Regions from separate parts of the Homo sapiens genome. Here region 1 is linked to region 2. Evidence: promoter capture Hi-C in 16 types of primary human blood cells and fetal thymus (Javierre and others, 2016). All regions are on one chromosome and are shown on one strand. Each heading gives the region's core, a stretch centred on a gene start or on the middle of the fragment in contact. The rest is flanking DNA. Distances are from core to core; before and after follow the strand shown.

Region 1 (7,564 bases), core at 2,433-4,932, 370 kb after region 2:
AAACATTAAAGGTTAAAGATTACAGTATCGACAAGGCTCAGCTTACAAATGGGGCCTTCCCAGAAAAGAAACTATCAAAAATTACAGCTCAAGAATTGCAGCTAACAGAAACCTATTCAAAACAAAGCCGTCACGTGTGGGTGTGCAATTTCTCTAAGAGCGCCCCATCCCCATTATCTCCCATCAGTGAACACGTGCATCTTCTAGAATTACCTGCTGAATACGGGCTGCTGGGATTTCCCCAGGCTTCCCACATGGCCTTGGTCATGGCCTGGATAACTTCTGGCTCCAGGGGAGTCGTTGCATTATAGTCCATATAAACTTTCCTGAAGGAAAGAAAGCAAAGACACCCATTAAGGAAAAGGAGATGGCATATGGGAAATATGGCTGCTCTGTGTCTATCCCATCGGCAGGAGCAAATAATGTCAAGGGCATGGTGATCCTCTGCATAAGCACTGCAGGCATCCACAAGCTGCACTTGGGAATCTACAGATCTACACTACTTATGGAAAATGCATGCATAATTTCTAAGACTCTAGTTTTTGTCAATTTCTTTTATAATTGATAGGACTTGGATTTTCATTTCGGTTTTCAAAATTTCTTTCTAGCAAGGCACAGTGGATTGTGCCTGTAGTCCAGCCATGTGGGAGGCTGAGGCGGAATGACCTCTTGAGGCCAGAAGTTTGAGGCTGCAGTGAGCTATGATGGTGCCTATGAATAGCCACTGCACTCCAGCCCGGGCAACACAGCCAGACCCAGTCTCTAATAACAAACACTCTTTCTACCCCTTGGTAGGATTAATGGTCTGTTGGGCCCAGATTACCCATCTGACTGCTGTAAAGGGCAGATCACTGGCCTCTTCCTTATGGAAGGAGGGGAACAGCTGCACATTCCCCAAGGGAACTTTCCTGTCTGCTGTTTTAACTTCATCAGAGGTTCGCCTTATTTCCCCACACTCATTTTTGCGATGGCCTGTGGGGCTCCTAGTGACCTGGGCTTCTCCCTGGGGCAGGTGAACTTTGGCCCCAGACCTTGCACTTTCAGTTTCTTTGCCCAGAAAGACTACATGCCCTGCCCCCACCTTACTTTTTTAGGTCTTTGTTCCAACTTAGTCCTCTTGTGAGACCCCCTGCCCTGCAGCTCTGCTTAAAACTACAGCTGGCTGGGCGCGGTGGCTCACGCCTATAATCCCAGCACTTTGGGAGGTCAAGGCAGGTGGATCACTTGAGGTTAGGAGTTTGAGACCAGCCTGGCCAACATGGTGAAACTCCATCTCTACTAAAAATGCAAACATTAGCCCTACTAGGGAGGCTGGGGCAGAAGAATTGCTTGAACCCAGGAGGCAGAGGTTGCTGTGAGCCGAGATCATATCACTGCACTCTAGCCTGGGCAACAGAGTGAGAGTCCGTCTCAAAAAAAAAAAAAACAACAACAAAAAAAACAAACCCACAAAACTGCAGCCACCTATGTCCCTACCTCCCCAGCCTCCAGGTCCCCTTCCCGCCTTCCTTTCTGGGCAGCATCATCATCTGACATACCAGACTTGTTCCCTTACTGTCTACCTTAATAGAGTAACAGAAGTATGGCTCCATGGGCATGGGGGCTCTGTTTTTCTCACTGCCCTGTCACCAATGTTGAAGCCCATGGTTGCCACACAACAGGGGCCTGATTTTTATAAGATGACAAAATAAATGCCACAGAAAGTACAAATTCCCTGAAAGATCCCTCACTAAGTAAAATTTATCTGTATATCTTTTTACTAATATCCAAAACCTTCGAAAGCCTTTAGAAAAATGTGTAGTAGTAGTCCTGCCTGATATTAATTTATCTAGTTTTTAAATAAACAGTGCTTACACCAATCCACATGAAAACCCAGATACAATGACTAACTGTGGCTGTTAAGCCACTGAGTGTGGACAGAATGTGCATTAGTTGAAATGAAGCATCTTTTCTGTTCAAAATCACTCAACAGGCTGTGCCCTGTGGCTCACGCCTGTAATCCCGGCACTTTGGGAGGCCAAGGCGGGCAGATCACCTGAGGTCAGGAGTTCAAGGTCAGCCTGGCCAACACGGCGAAACCCCATCTCTACTAAAAATACAATAAAATTAGCTGGACGTGGTGGCACGTGCCTGTAATCCCAGCTACTTGGGAGGCTGAGACAGGAGAATCGTTTGAACCCGGGCAGTGGATGTTGCAGTGAGCCAAGACTGCACCACTGCACTCCAGCCTGGGTGACAGAGTGAGACTCCATCTCAATTAAAAAAAAAAAAAAAAATCACTCAATAGGTACAAGGCTTTGACAAGTTTGACTCGCCATCCTTTACCACTCTGGTACTAGTATTAATAGTCCTAGGAATCCCCCAGCCCGGCTTGACTTTGCATGTGCCCTTATATCTGTTTTTCTTTCCTATAAATAAGCATCCAAAGTACCTTAGGCTAGCTAGTGTTTGTTGAGCGACTGTAGCTCTTCAATCTGCTGCTGGGCTGAACAAATCTATTTTGTTCAGATTAATACTTTACACATTCCTTTGCTTCATTATTTGCTGCTTCCTTAAAATGCTATCAGTATTGGATGAGCAGGCTCAACTTTGTTAGCTTCATAACCAAAAAATAAAAAATCTTGGGAATCTCGCTCCACTGATTCCCTAGGGGATATTTTCCCAGATCCCTTCACTTTGTTCCAACCAAGGTAGAATGCCAAATGTGTGTGCTTTAGGCCTGGACCCCCTCATATTCTAAGCATGGGTAGCGAATGAGCTCACAAAAAGGAAAAAGAGGGGTCTGGAAAGAAGACACACAAACCAGAAAATGCATACCCCTGCCTCCTGCTCTTCTCGGACTTAACTAGTATGGATACCACGTGCTTCGGGTCTCCGCGCTTCTCAGCGGTGGCCATCCCGTTTCCTGCAGCTGGGCCAGCAGTCTGGGAGAACCCTTGATTCCCTTTCACCTGCCCCAGTGCACCAGCTTCCTACCAACGCATCCGTTTCTGGGCGCACACCACATCTCTCTCCTAGGTTGTTACAAGATCCCCAACTGGCTTCCCGGCTTCCTCTCGTCCCATGCCTACCCGCGCCCCTACTTTCTAGGAAGCAGCCAGAAGGACTCCTTCAAAACACTTAAATTGCATCGCCCCGTGATCAACTTCCGAGGCCCCATAAGGCTCCGAATGAACCCCAAAGTTCTTCCCGGGCTCAGGGGCTCTGCCGGTTCACCTCCGGCAAGTCCCCTGCCCTTCGCATCTGCTGTGCCCTCTTCCTGGCAGGCTCTGCTTCCCCAGAACCTGCAAACCTCACCCCTGGAAGTCACTCGGGTTTCGGCCCCAAAGTCACCTCTCCGTGGGCCCTTGCGGGGCCACAGCTCGCACCCGCTCCTCCTTGAAGCTCGCATCCCTGACTTAGGCCGACCTCGCGGACATCCCCGCGCGGGACGCCCCACGCGAGAGCGGCCACAGGCCGGGAGCCCCCTTCGTCCTCCCGCGCGGGACAATCGGCGACAGGCGCCGGCCGCTCCCCAGCCCTGCCCTAAAGGCGCGCACCTCTCCGGCGAGTTGTGTTTCCCGCAGCCGCTGGGCTGACTCGCCGCGGGTGCCGGCGCATCCCTCCCCGGCGCCACGGCCGCCTCCATCCCCGCCCCACTGCTGCCGGGCATCCAGCCTCCTTCCCGCGGAGCGCTACGGGCCCAGAGCGCCGGGGAGGAGGCGGGGCCGCGACGCCCGGGCGCGTCCGGATTGGCTGAGCGAAGCACCCCAGCCAATCCACCCGCTTCAGAGGGCCGCCGAGCCCCCAGCGGGGAGGCGAGGCTGCGCTGGGTCAGGTGACGGGTGGGGGCGGGGCTTAGCGCGTCACAGAGCTTCCCGGGAACCGGGCGCTAGAAGCCGCGTCTCCTGGGCCGGCGGATCCCCGCACTTTCACTTCCGGGGGAGCCCCGTGACCTTTGCTGTCTGCGGCAGGGCCGCCATCGGGCCGCGGCCGGTTAGTCGGCGTAAGAGCAGGCGGGGCCCGAGCTGGACCTGAGGAGCAGAGGCGGCTGGGCAGTCCTGCGGGTGCCTCCCTCTAGCCGCATGAGCGCGGGACCGTGCACTCCGGGAGAGCCGGGGCCGCGCGGCCTTGTTCCCCGCGAACCCTCGAGGGGAAGTGCCGGGGCCGCGGCAGCAGGGCCAGGGCCCCGGGGGTCTCCCGCAGGCCACCCTGGACAGTGATGAGCAGGTCCGCTGGACCTGCGCGTCCGTTAGTCGGAGCGGCTCCATAGGGGACCTGGATGGCGTGAAGTTAAGAGTCACGCATCGAGGATGGACTTGAGGGGATCTGGAGTAGAGGATGGGAGGGCATTGAGAAAATAGGGCCAGAGATGAGGGACTCTAAGTGGGCGTGGAAACGCAGGAAAGATTAATTCAAGATCTGTTTAGGCCGTTAAATAGGAATTGGGGCATGAGGGACAGGAAGGAAGCAAGGATTAGACAAGTGACTGGGAAGATGTTAGTGCCTTTATCTGGGTAAGAGGGAAGACGGGAGGGGGAAAGATGATGGGTTTAGCTTTGGACATGTTGAGTTGTCTGTGAGACAGTCACAAGTGTAAACATCCACCAATGGTTGGTGTCCCGCCAACCATTAAGAAAAGTCAGTTGAGAAAGTGGTAGAAATGAGCAAAAATCCTCACGAAGCCATCCTACCGTCACTTTTTTTGTTGTTTTTTGTTTTTTTGGCATAATAGTGTCTACCTTTAATTGAGCCTTGAACTATGCCAGGCAGTGTTCTAGGTATTTTTCGTGTGTTCACTAATTTAATCTTGATGATTAACCCAGTCTGGTAGGTATTTATGTATGAGGAATCCAAGATACAGAAAGGCATCTTGCCCAAGTTCACACGAGTAGTGGCTGGAGCCAAAATTCGGTTTCAAGCATGCTTTGCCAAGAGGTTGAATTTTAATTGGCTTTTCATGGGCTTTCTCTATTTTGTGTCCTGTTGGGGTCCAGAATAACTTGGCTTTTCCAGCACAGCAAATCTGCAAATTTCTGGACTCATTCTCTCTCATTCTTCCCTATAAACGCAGCTCATTTCTTGCCAAATGCAGCCAATAGCAAAGGGCCCACCAACATTTAAGAAGCAAATGGATGCACAGGAGCATGAGAACAGTCAAAAGAGGAGGAAAGGAAAGGGAATTGAGAAGGAATGTCAAAAAAGTCAAGAAGACACATAATAGTGTAAAGTGTGGCTGAGAGGCAATCCGAAGTCTACTGTGCGTAACAATTAGGAGGCACTGATAAACTAGCGAGAGAAGTCTCAGTGATGGGAGAGGCATGGAAGTTAGAATGCAAAGATGGGATATGAAAAAATGAAGAATGCAGTCAACTCTTAAAACGGTTGAGAAAGGAGGAATTAAAAAGGCGTATAAGATTACAGGCAAGCTGGGCGCGGTGCTTCACCCCTGTAATCCTAGCACTTTGAAAGGCTGAGGTGGGTGGATCACCTAAGGTCAAGGGTTCGAGACCAGCCTGGCCAACATGGCAAAACTCCGTCTCTACTAAAAATACAAAAAGTAGCCGACTGTGGTGGTGCATGCTTGTAATCCCAGCTACTGGGGAGGCTGAGGCAAGAGAATCACTTGAACCTGGGAGGTGGAGGTTACACAGTGAAGCTGAAACCATGCCACTGCACTCCAGCCTGGGAGTCAGAGTGAGACTCCGTCTCAAAAAAAAAAAAAAAAAAAAAGATTAAGAGCAAATAGAGACTGAACATGTTCATAGGCTAAAGGGAGTTAGCCAACAGGACGTGCAAGGAAGAGGAGCCAAAGTCCTGGAGGAGACGATAGGGGATGAAGTTAAGAGTAAAGGTGGCTAGGGAAGTTGATAGGCATGGGGAGAATTCATTCTCTAAATCTGTTTGGAAGGCTGTAAGGATAGGAGCCCAAGGACAATGGACAAAGTGACGATTCATCCCAAGCACTCCTTGGGCCAGTTAGGCAGCAATAAGGTTTGTGTTTCCAGGTGAACATAGTGAGTGTAGTGGTGGAGTCAGACAAGATAGTGTCCAACATGGCTGGTGATACCCCGAAAGAATTGAGTACAAACATACAGAAGCCCAGGTGCTGAGGTAGCCCAGCTGAAAACAGTTTAGGGTACAACACGCAGCAGCAGCTACCACCATTCCAAGTATACTGGTCACACATGCAACAGATGACCTACCAAGATGTCTCTAATACAAACACAAGTGCCCCATAGTGGCCAGACATTTGAGGAATGGCATCTCCATGAAGATAGTGAGAGGTGACAGCGTGCTGGCAGCCCTGGCAGCCCTCGCTCGCTCTCGGCGCCTCCTCTGCCTGGGCTCCCACTTTGGTGGCACTTGAGGAGCCCTTCAGCCCACCGCTGCACTGTGGGAGCCCCTTTCTGGGCTGGCCAAGGCTGGAGCCGGCTCCCTCAGCTTGCAGCGAGGTGTGGAGGGAGAGGCGCGAGCGGGAACCAGGGCTGCGCGGGGCGCTTCTGGGCCAGCTGGAGTTCCGGGTGGGCGTGGGCTTGGCGGGCCCCGCACTCGGAGCGGCCTGCCAGCCGGCCCCGCCGGCCCCGGGCAATGAGGGGCTTAGCACCCGGGCCAGCGGCTGCGGAGGGTGTACTGGGTCCCCCAGCAGTGCCAGCCCACCTGCGCTGCGCTGGATTTCTCGCCGGGCCTTAGCTGCCTCCCCGTGGGGCAGGGCTCGGGACCTGCAGCCTGCCATGCCTGAACCTCCTCACTTCCATGGGCTCCTGCGCAGCCTGAGCCTCCCAGACGAGCGCTGCTCCCTACTCCAGGGCACCCAGTACCATCCACCGCCCAAGGGCTGCGGAGTGCAGGCGCAGGGCAAGCGGGACTGGCAGGCAGCTCCACCTGCAGCCGCAGTGGGGGATCCACTGGGTGAAGCCAGCTGGACTCCTGAGTCTGGTGGGGACTTGGAGAACCTTTGTGTCTAGCTCAGGGATTGTAAACGCACCAATCAGCGCCCTGTCAAAACAGACCACTCGGCTCTCTGTAAAAAGGACCAATCAGCAGGATGTGGGTAGGGCCAGATAAGAGAATAAAAGCAGGCTGCCCGAGCCAGCAGTGGCAACCCGCTCGGGTCCCTTCCACGCTGTCAAAGCTTTGTTCTTTCACTCTTTGCAATAAATCTTGCTGCTGCTCGCTCTTTGGGTCCACACTGCCTTTATGAGCTGTAACACTCACCACGAAGGTCTGCAGCTTCACTCCTGAAGCCAGCGAGACCACGAACCCACCGGGAGGAACGAACAACTCCAGACGCACCGCCTTAAGAGCTGTAGCACTCACCGCGAAGGTCCGCAGCTTCACTCCTGAGCCAGCCAGACCACAAACCCCACCAGAAGGAAGAAACTCCAAACACATCCATACATCAGAAGGAACAAACTCTGGACACGCCGCCTTTAAGAACTGTAACACTCACCGCGAGGGTCCGCGGCTTCATTCTTGAAGTCAGTGAGACCAAGAACCCACCAATTCCGGACACAATAGCACGTGCACCAAATAGAATTCTCACCTAAGGGAAAAAGTTTATAGAGCTATCAGAGTAGGTCTC
Region 2 (7,701 bases), core at 907-3,406:
CTGAGTTGCTCATGCTGATCCCACAACCAGACTCGCCGCAGATCAACAAGCCGGCATGAACAGCTCTTTAAGCCACCACCCCAGTCTTCCTTCAGTAACTATCCTCCCCTGTAATTACTCCACAGTTGCGGTTACTACAGAGTGAAAAAGTTCAAAGTCGGAGTGGGAAAGATTCAGGTGTAGGGCAATAACCAACAGGTAAATGGCGGCCACAGGACTTTTGCTGAGCCCTCTTCTGGGCCCCCTCTGCTGGCCTCTGTGCTATCCATTCCTGGCCCTGCTCAAAGTAGACTCAGAATCTTTCCCCAGCTCCAGATTCAAAAGCAACTTCAAGTTTGTGTTTCGCTGATCAACTACTCCAATGACAACACAACTGCCCCAGGATAGCACTTAAGCTTCAACTGAAAATCTGTTGCCCCTCTACCCGAGGCCGAAACACACTGAATAACAAAACAGCAGTGCATGAGGATATAAAAAGGAGCCCTCAGCTGAGTGTGGTGGCTGCCGCCTGTAATCCCAGCACTTTGGGAGGCAGAGGCGGGCAGATCACCTGAGGTCTAGAGTTCGCTATCAGCCTGGCCAATATGCCAATATGGTGAAGCCCCGTCTCTACTAAAATACAAAAATTAGCCGGGCATGATGCCAGCACCTGTAATCCCAGCTACTAGGGAGGCTGAGGCCAGAGCATCGCTTGAACCCCCGAGGCGGAGGCTGCAGTGGGCCGAGATCACGCCACTGCACTCCACCCTGGGCAACAAGAGCGAAACTCCGTCTCAAAAAAAAAGGAGACCTGTGCAGCCGACAAAGCCAGTGTTTATTCCCCAGGAACTCTCTTTATACTGGGAAGTAGCTGTTGGTCCTCTTTTTCCCACGGAACACGCATCATTCCGTCTCTCACTCTCACATGAGATGACATCCTAGACCCTAAGGTCCTGGCTGTCTCTGAAGTCAAAGTCAACGCCAACCAAAGCCCAGGATGGTAGATGCTTTGTCTGGCTTTTTCTGGTCACTGCAGTATCCTCTGCTGGGTCTAGCCAACAGCAGGTCTTCAATACAAGTCTGTTAAATGATTGGAAGGAGGTGCAGAGGGAGGGATGGATGGAAAAGCCTATCTGCACCAGTCTCCAAGTCAATCTTTTAAGATGTTTAAGAAATGTATTGGTTTATTACTAAGTAGGAGAGGAACCCCTCCAAAGACAAATATAGGCATGTAAAGAAAGCCCAGAACACACGAAACTATTGGCGCGAATGGCAAGCTCAGAAATCCAGCAAGAAGGAACTCCCACCACACCACCGGGAAACGGGAACCTGTCCTGACCGCTTCCTTCACATCTGCATGGTAGGGACACTGCAAGGTGGAGACCCTAAGTAGGACAGTTATTTTGGAAGGTGGGTGTGAGCCTTTCTATCTGCCTCCCTTGCTGGTGGGCCAAAGGCCCCTGGACATGTTGTGTCACTGACGAGCTCGCTGGAGACGGCGTCCCCGTTGTCCCTGGTCTGTGCCTGTGGTGGGTGGGAAGGCTGCCCCCCGCTGTACCACCGGACACGCCGTGGGCGGCAGAATGGTGAAAAAGTGCCTGCCCTCCCTAGGGCTACCCTCTGGCTGGCTTTCCTGATCCGTGCGCTCAGAGCTGGAAGGTGGCCCACGTCCTACTTTTGCGGTTGGGTCATATCAAATCTGTATCGGCTAACGGGAAGGAAGTTACGAGCAAGTTCCACCGGAAAGAAAATCTAGCGCGGGGACTGCACTCGAGGCCGAGGAGAGGGCAGCGCGTCCGTGGTGGGGTCGCCCAGCACTGCGAGCCGCGCTGAACCCCACCCCCGGCCTGCAGGGTGCGGCTCCCTGGCTGCCCCGTGGACCCGGCCAGCCCGGGACGAGGACGCAGGACCTCGGCAGGGACGCCGGAGCCAGCCCTTCGCCATCCCCACACGCCCCGCGGCCCAGTGGCCGCGCGCACGTTACCTGCGGAGCCCGGCCCTGCCCGCCCGTCTGGGCTGCCGCCCTCCGCCATGGATGCTTCCGCCTCCGCGGCCGCCCCTGACCCGCGCACGCCCCTCGGGCAGGAAGCAGAACGACCCGCGACCACTTCCGGCGCCGAGGGCAATGGGGGGCGCGTCGGGGTCGCGGCTTCCGGCGGGCGCGCGCCGGCCTCACTGGTTTCCGGGGCCGCGCAGGGGCCACGCCTCCGCTTCCGGCCTCGCTGTCTAGCAGGGCGCTGGCTGGTCCCTTCGTCCGGCGGGAACTTCGCGGCTAACCGACTCTCTGGATGCCGGCCGCGCTGTGGTTTCCTCACATAAGAAGCCAAGGAGTCGGAAAGCCCGTTGCCTGAGGCAGCAGTCTGGGAATTTCGGTCCGGCGGGCCGTCCCCACCCACACGGACGGGGCGTGGCTTCTGCCAGATGTGGGCGGGGCCCCGAGGGCCGTGGCGGGCGGGACCCGGGCCTCGGCCGGGCTGGCTTGGTCCCCGCAGGTGCCCCCCGCTAGCCACGAGCAGCCCCGGGAGGGTGGATTCGGAGGCGCGGGGACTGGTGAGGGCCCACTGCAGGGCTGAGCGTCGCAGCGTGCTGTGGTTTTAGATGAATGCTCCTCCAAATCCCTTCCATGAAGCCCTCAATCAGGTCGGTAACTGATGACAGCCAGTGGCTGACGCGAAGTTCATTGAATAAATGAATGCATTCGTGAACAACCGAGTAACATTTCTTGCACACTCCCAACTTCAAATATCGCAGCGTCGTCCCACCATGAGTATTGGTGTTGGTCCTAAAGCACGGATTCCCTTGGCTCCTCCCATTCTCCCCTGCTGAGTTAGACAGCGGGGCCTCATGCAGGAGGAGGATTTGTACACAGCACAGCAGGAGGCTGATGAGGGAGTCCGGAGACCCCAGCAGTCGTGGGCGTGAGCTGCTGGCTCATCCGTGTGTACAACATTCCAGACTGGAGTAAGGGAAGCCGCAGGCGCAGCCCCGCGAGTGCCCCTGCTGAGGCTGGCCCTGGGTGGCCCAGATGCACCAGGGGGCCCACTGGGGGCAGACCTGGCAGGCCCTGTGGGGGTTGGAGGCGGGAGTGGGGGTACTTCCTACAGTGGTGTTTGGTCTTGATGACAGCAGAGAGCACCACTGGCATGAGGGACAGGTGACTCCGATGATGACGCTGCCAGGCCAGGAGCCAGGGGTGTGCCCAGCCCCTGGCTCCACCACAGCTGCACATCCCGAACTCGGAGCTTCAGCAACTCCGAAGCCTGAAGCCGCCTCACGTGTTGTTGGATGGATGAATGGATAAACGAAATGCCGTCCATCCATACAATGGAATCGTACTCAGCCTTAGAAAGGAAATGCTGTCCGTCCATACAATGGATTCGTACTCAGCCTTAGAAAGGAAGGGAATCCTGACACACGTCACAACACGGATGACCTTGAAGACGTTATGCTGAGTGAGATAAGCCAGCCACAAAAAGACAAATACAGTACTGTGTGATTCCAATTATTTGAGGTCCCTGGAGCAGTGAAATGGTGGAGCGGAATGGGGGTTGCCAAGGGCTGGGGGAGTGGGGAATGAGGAGTTAGTTTTTCATGGGGACAGAGCTTCAGTTGAGGAAGATGAAAAAGTTTTGGAGACGGGTCACACAGCAATGTGAATTGTGCATTAACAGTACTGAACTGCGCATTTAAAGCAGGTTAAGTTTTATGTTCTATATATTTTACCACAATTGTTTTAAAGAATTTTTTAAAAGAGGTTCCGGTGCAGTCAGTCAGGGGTGCGGGTTGGGTGTTGGGTGGTTCAGAGCACCCAGGTGATTCTAAAGTGCAGCCTGGTGAGAGCCACGTCTCCGGGGGCCTCCGCTGCTCTGCCTGCCTGGTCCCGGTGGGCTCACAGTGAGCGTTCTGCGTGTCGGTAGCCTTTGCATCAAGGTATTGAGTCCCTGAGCAGAGTGGCCCTCCTGCACCTGCACCTCCACCTTCCCTGCCACGTGTTGCCCTTGGGATCCTGCCTCTTAGAAGAACCTGAGGCCGCACGTGGTCTGTAGCGGGGAGGTGGCCTCACATGCCCACCTCCGTGCCTCCTAAATGCCCACATGGTGCAGGGCAGTGTCCACAGAGCCAGCAGTGCTGGAGGGGGAAGGACACTCAATTGCTGGCCACTCTGCCAATACCATCACCCCCATTTCTCAGGACCCTGAGATCTGGGGGCCTGGTGCTATGCCCAAAACCACATAGCCCACAGGTGGCTGAGTTGGGATCACATCCAGACTGTCCAGCCCTACAGCCTGTCTCCCCCTCTGACCTCACCTCTCCAGAGTCCCTCTTCTTCCAGGTCCTCTGAGCCCAAAAGACCCACCAACACAGGGACACTCAGTGACCGCTAGAGATGAAGCAACTTGGGTCCCATCACCTACAAGCAACAGGGATTTACCAGTGCCTACCAGTGCCATCCCAGCCCAGCACAGCAGCAACAGGACCAGTGCAGTGGGCTGTCTTGCCCCTCCAGGTCCCAGTGGCTCCCTCCCGTTTTCCCACCCCTAAAATCACCCGTCGCTTCCTGTTGCCTCCTGGAGGCTCAGGCCTCCCCCAAAGTGTCCCCAGTGACCCCTCTGTGGAGCCTAGCCCAGTCTTTGTGGTGGAAAATTTGGCAGTCTAGCTAAAGCATAAGAATGAATAATCCTTGATCAGAAATGCCTCTTCCAGGCATTCATTCTAGGGAAATAATCAGATGTGGGGGAGATTCAGCTACAGTAGTGCTCATTACCATCATTTTATAACAAAAATGTCCAACAATGGACTTTCTGGTTCAGGAGGTCTGAGAAGGGGCCCCCATCCCTCATCCTTCCTGTTGCAGGGAACTGGGGGCCCCTCTGGAAGCATGGCAGGTATATGGGGGGCTGGAAACATGAGCTCCACAGCTGCAGGCTGGTGAGGATCCTGCTGGGCCTGGGTGTGCTGGTGCTGCTGTCGCTTAACCCCCACAGCTGTCTCCGGGAATTGGGCAGCAGATGTCACCCAGGCAGGGACCAGAAATGGGAATCTCTCCTGATCCTAGGCCCTGTGGGCCTGTGTTTGGGGTGTCTCCTCCCAGGAGGCCCAGCCCTCTCTTCCCCTTTGAAGGATCTCCTGCTTTGAAGGAAGCAGGGGATCTGAAGGTTTACCAGGTGAGGCCACGAGATGAGGGCAGCCCGCTGACCCTCCAGGCTTTGCCCTGGAAACATCTTTACCAGCCCCTGCCCCGCAGACCCTGTCTCAGGCCTTGGAGCCCACCTGCAGAGAGTCAGGGTGTCTGCCCCAAGCTAGGGAGGCAGATCCACATCCTTCCAGCTGAGTCACCAGGACAGGGTGACTCCTCTGAGCACCAGCTGCCTCCCTGTCAAATCGGGCTGATAATACCCACTTTGCAGGCTTTGTAAAGACACAAAATCCCATAGAATGTGCCACAGGCTTCCTGGGGCAGAGAGAGCCTCAGGACACAGTGGGCATCGGTGCCATGGCTGCTAACGCTATGGCATGGCTTTGCTGAGTGGAGCCACGCCCACCTCCAGCCTCCCACCCCACCCCACCCTGTCCTAAACTGAGCCCACCTTCTCTGCCCAGCTTGGAACAGAGCAGGGCTCAGGGGTAGACGCAGTGTCCCAGCAGGCCCTCAGCTTGGGGCTGGTGGGGCTGGGCAGGGCCCAGGCCGTGATGTTCCTTGCAGCCCTCGAAGCCTCCCTCTTCCAGCCAGGTCGGCCTCTGCCTGGATGTGGTTTAGCCTGGCAGTGGAGGTCCCAGGGAGGACCGGGAAGCCCAGCTGTGGGGACTGCAGAGGACAGTGTGGGCCCTGGGAGTCCTGCCAAGGGGGTGCCCTCTTTCAGCCCCCCTCACAGGTGCTGTGCTGCCTCCCTTGGTGTGACCGAGAACTCCACTAGTGTCAGGAGGCCACAGCGCTCAGTGAGCCCCTGCATCCTCTACCAGGGCCTGCGTCTCTCCAGGCAGCACCTGTGGAAGGCAACTACCATGTGCTGGTCACTGCCACAGCGGGAGGAGTCAGAGGTGAGGAAATCTCAGTCCCAGAGCAGGGACTGGCAGCAGAGACAGGAGGTTTTTAGAGACTCTTCGGCCACAGCGGGACCAACAGCCCAGCTTGCCCAGCACTGAGTGGGCCTCAGAACACAGAGCTGCCAGTTTTCAAAGCAGGGTGAGTGGAGACCCTATCCCAGCCCTCAGCTCCGCTCCCCGCCTGTCCTGCGGCAGTGCTGGAGTCTTTGGGCTGGCCTCACCATGCCCTCCTTACCGCCAGGTGAACTTTTCCTGCCATACCAGTTGGTCTCTGTCACTCGGGCTCACAGACTCCTTCACGGTCCCGAATGCCCATCTATAGGCTCTTGGAGGAGCCTGGGCATCTGAGGCCCTTCCCGAGAAGAGCCCCAACCTCCCTCCCCTCCTCCAGCTCCCAAGCGCCCTGCCTAGAACCTGACCCTCCAGGGCCAGCACTCTCTCCCTGGGGTCTGCGCACGAGGCTCCCTCCCTCCCATACCCCTGTCCTGGGGACCTCTCCCCCTCACCAGATGCCTCCCCCACCGCACCCCCGCTTTCCGCCCCGCAGCTGGGGCCTTGGCTCCAGGTCCTCCCAGCAGCATTTATCTCCTCACCTGACTGCAGCTGCCGGAGGAGCTGGCCTATCTCTCCTGGCAGACAGTTAGGTTCCACGAAAGTGGCTTCTGGTGGGACGGGTATTTTGATTCTGTCACAGGAGCTGGCCCAGGCCTTGTTCCTGAACCAATGGATAAAGGCATTCATGCTCTGAAATTGACAAACTGCCACACCAGGGCAGCGGGGTTCTAGGGTTCAGGGGCGAGCAAAGCTGGACACCATCCCAAGGAACCTATAGAGCAGCATGGGGGCATTGAATGGCAGCCTCCAAAACAGAGATGTCCACGGTCTCAGCTCCGGAACCGTGAATGGGACCTTATTTGGAAAAAGGGTCTTTGCAGATGCGATTAAGGATCTCAAGATGAGATCGTCCTGGATTTAGGGCAGGCCCTAATCCAATGGCAGCTGCCTTTACAAGAGAAAGGCAAAGGCGGATTGGAGAGAGAGAAGACAGCGTGAAGACGGGGGTGGAGAGTGCAGCGACGTGGCCACAAGCCGAGGAACACCTGGGGCCCCCAGAAGCTGGCAGAGGCAACAAGGACCCTCCCCTAGAACGTGGGGGTCGGGGGAGCGCAGCCCTGCCTGCACCTGGGCTTCACACGGGTCTGTGGTGAACTGTTTCCGAAGCTTCAGGGCTCATACATCCAGTAAGGAAACTGGAATTACAGTCGCTCCCTGCGGCGAGGACCCAGCAGGAGAGCCCGGGCTGAGAGCGGGAAGGCGTCTCCAGGAGCCACACCGAGGGTAAGAAGACTTCACTCCCCTTAGCCCTGTTACTCAAAAGCACTGCTTTGCTAACAGTTTCTTTTTCAGGAACTTTTTCATGTTTGGAATGTATTTTCCCCTAGGTTATCAGCAGAAAACACACGCCTGAATGGGCGTGTCGGTGGAGCTGAGCCTGTCGCCTCATCCAGTGCCACGGAGGAGCCCTCGCGGTGTCTCCCTGCAGAGGTCACACTGGGGTCACAACTGAGGCTGCCTTGGGCAAGGGCCAACCGCAAGGCTGTTTCTGAAACCATAAAGTACCAAGAGAATGCCCTGTGTTACAATTAATAAATAGCATTGTTAATCGACGTGAACAAA

What was found. Contacts are between HindIII fragments. The CHiCAGO score rates a contact against its expected background, and 5 or more counts as called.
Region 1: the fragment with the promoter of SCLY here is called in contact with the fragment with the promoter of ASB1 in region 2 in 3 of 17 cell types (total B cells, naive CD8 T cells and total CD8 T cells); the score reaches 9.0 in total B cells.

What each region holds. Positions count from the first base shown.
Region 1 is chr2:238,057,119-238,064,682 of GRCh38, reverse strand. It overlaps SCLY (selenocysteine lyase), which reads right to left and starts at 3,682. Exons shown (of 12, transcript NM_016510.7): 1 at 3,540-3,682; 2 at 214-326. The coding sequence starts at 3,628. It overlaps UBE2F-SCLY (UBE2F-SCLY readthrough (NMD candidate)), which reads right to left. Exons shown (of 19, transcript NR_037904.1): 8 at 7,433-7,525; 9 at 214-326. RefSeq lists silencers at 3,473-3,922, 4,063-4,272, a cis regulatory region at 7,316 and an enhancer at 7,232-7,401. The HindIII fragment of the contact is 10,603 bases long and covers 1-7,116 here.
Region 2 is chr2:238,421,382-238,429,082 of GRCh38, reverse strand. ASB1 (ankyrin repeat and SOCS box containing 1) reads right to left here and starts at 2,156. Exons shown (of 5, transcript NM_001040445.3): 1 at 1,964-2,156. The coding sequence starts at 2,012. LOC124908002 (a long non-coding RNA gene) reads left to right here and starts at 2,189. Exons shown (of 2, transcript XR_007088163.1): 1 at 2,189-7,362; 2 at 7,467-7,697. RefSeq lists enhancers at 1,408-1,527, 3,040-3,575, 6,698-7,357, silencers at 1,778-2,297, 2,318-2,707 and cis regulatory regions at 6,300-6,932, 7,103-7,701. The HindIII fragment of the contact is 6,850 bases long and covers 398-7,247 here.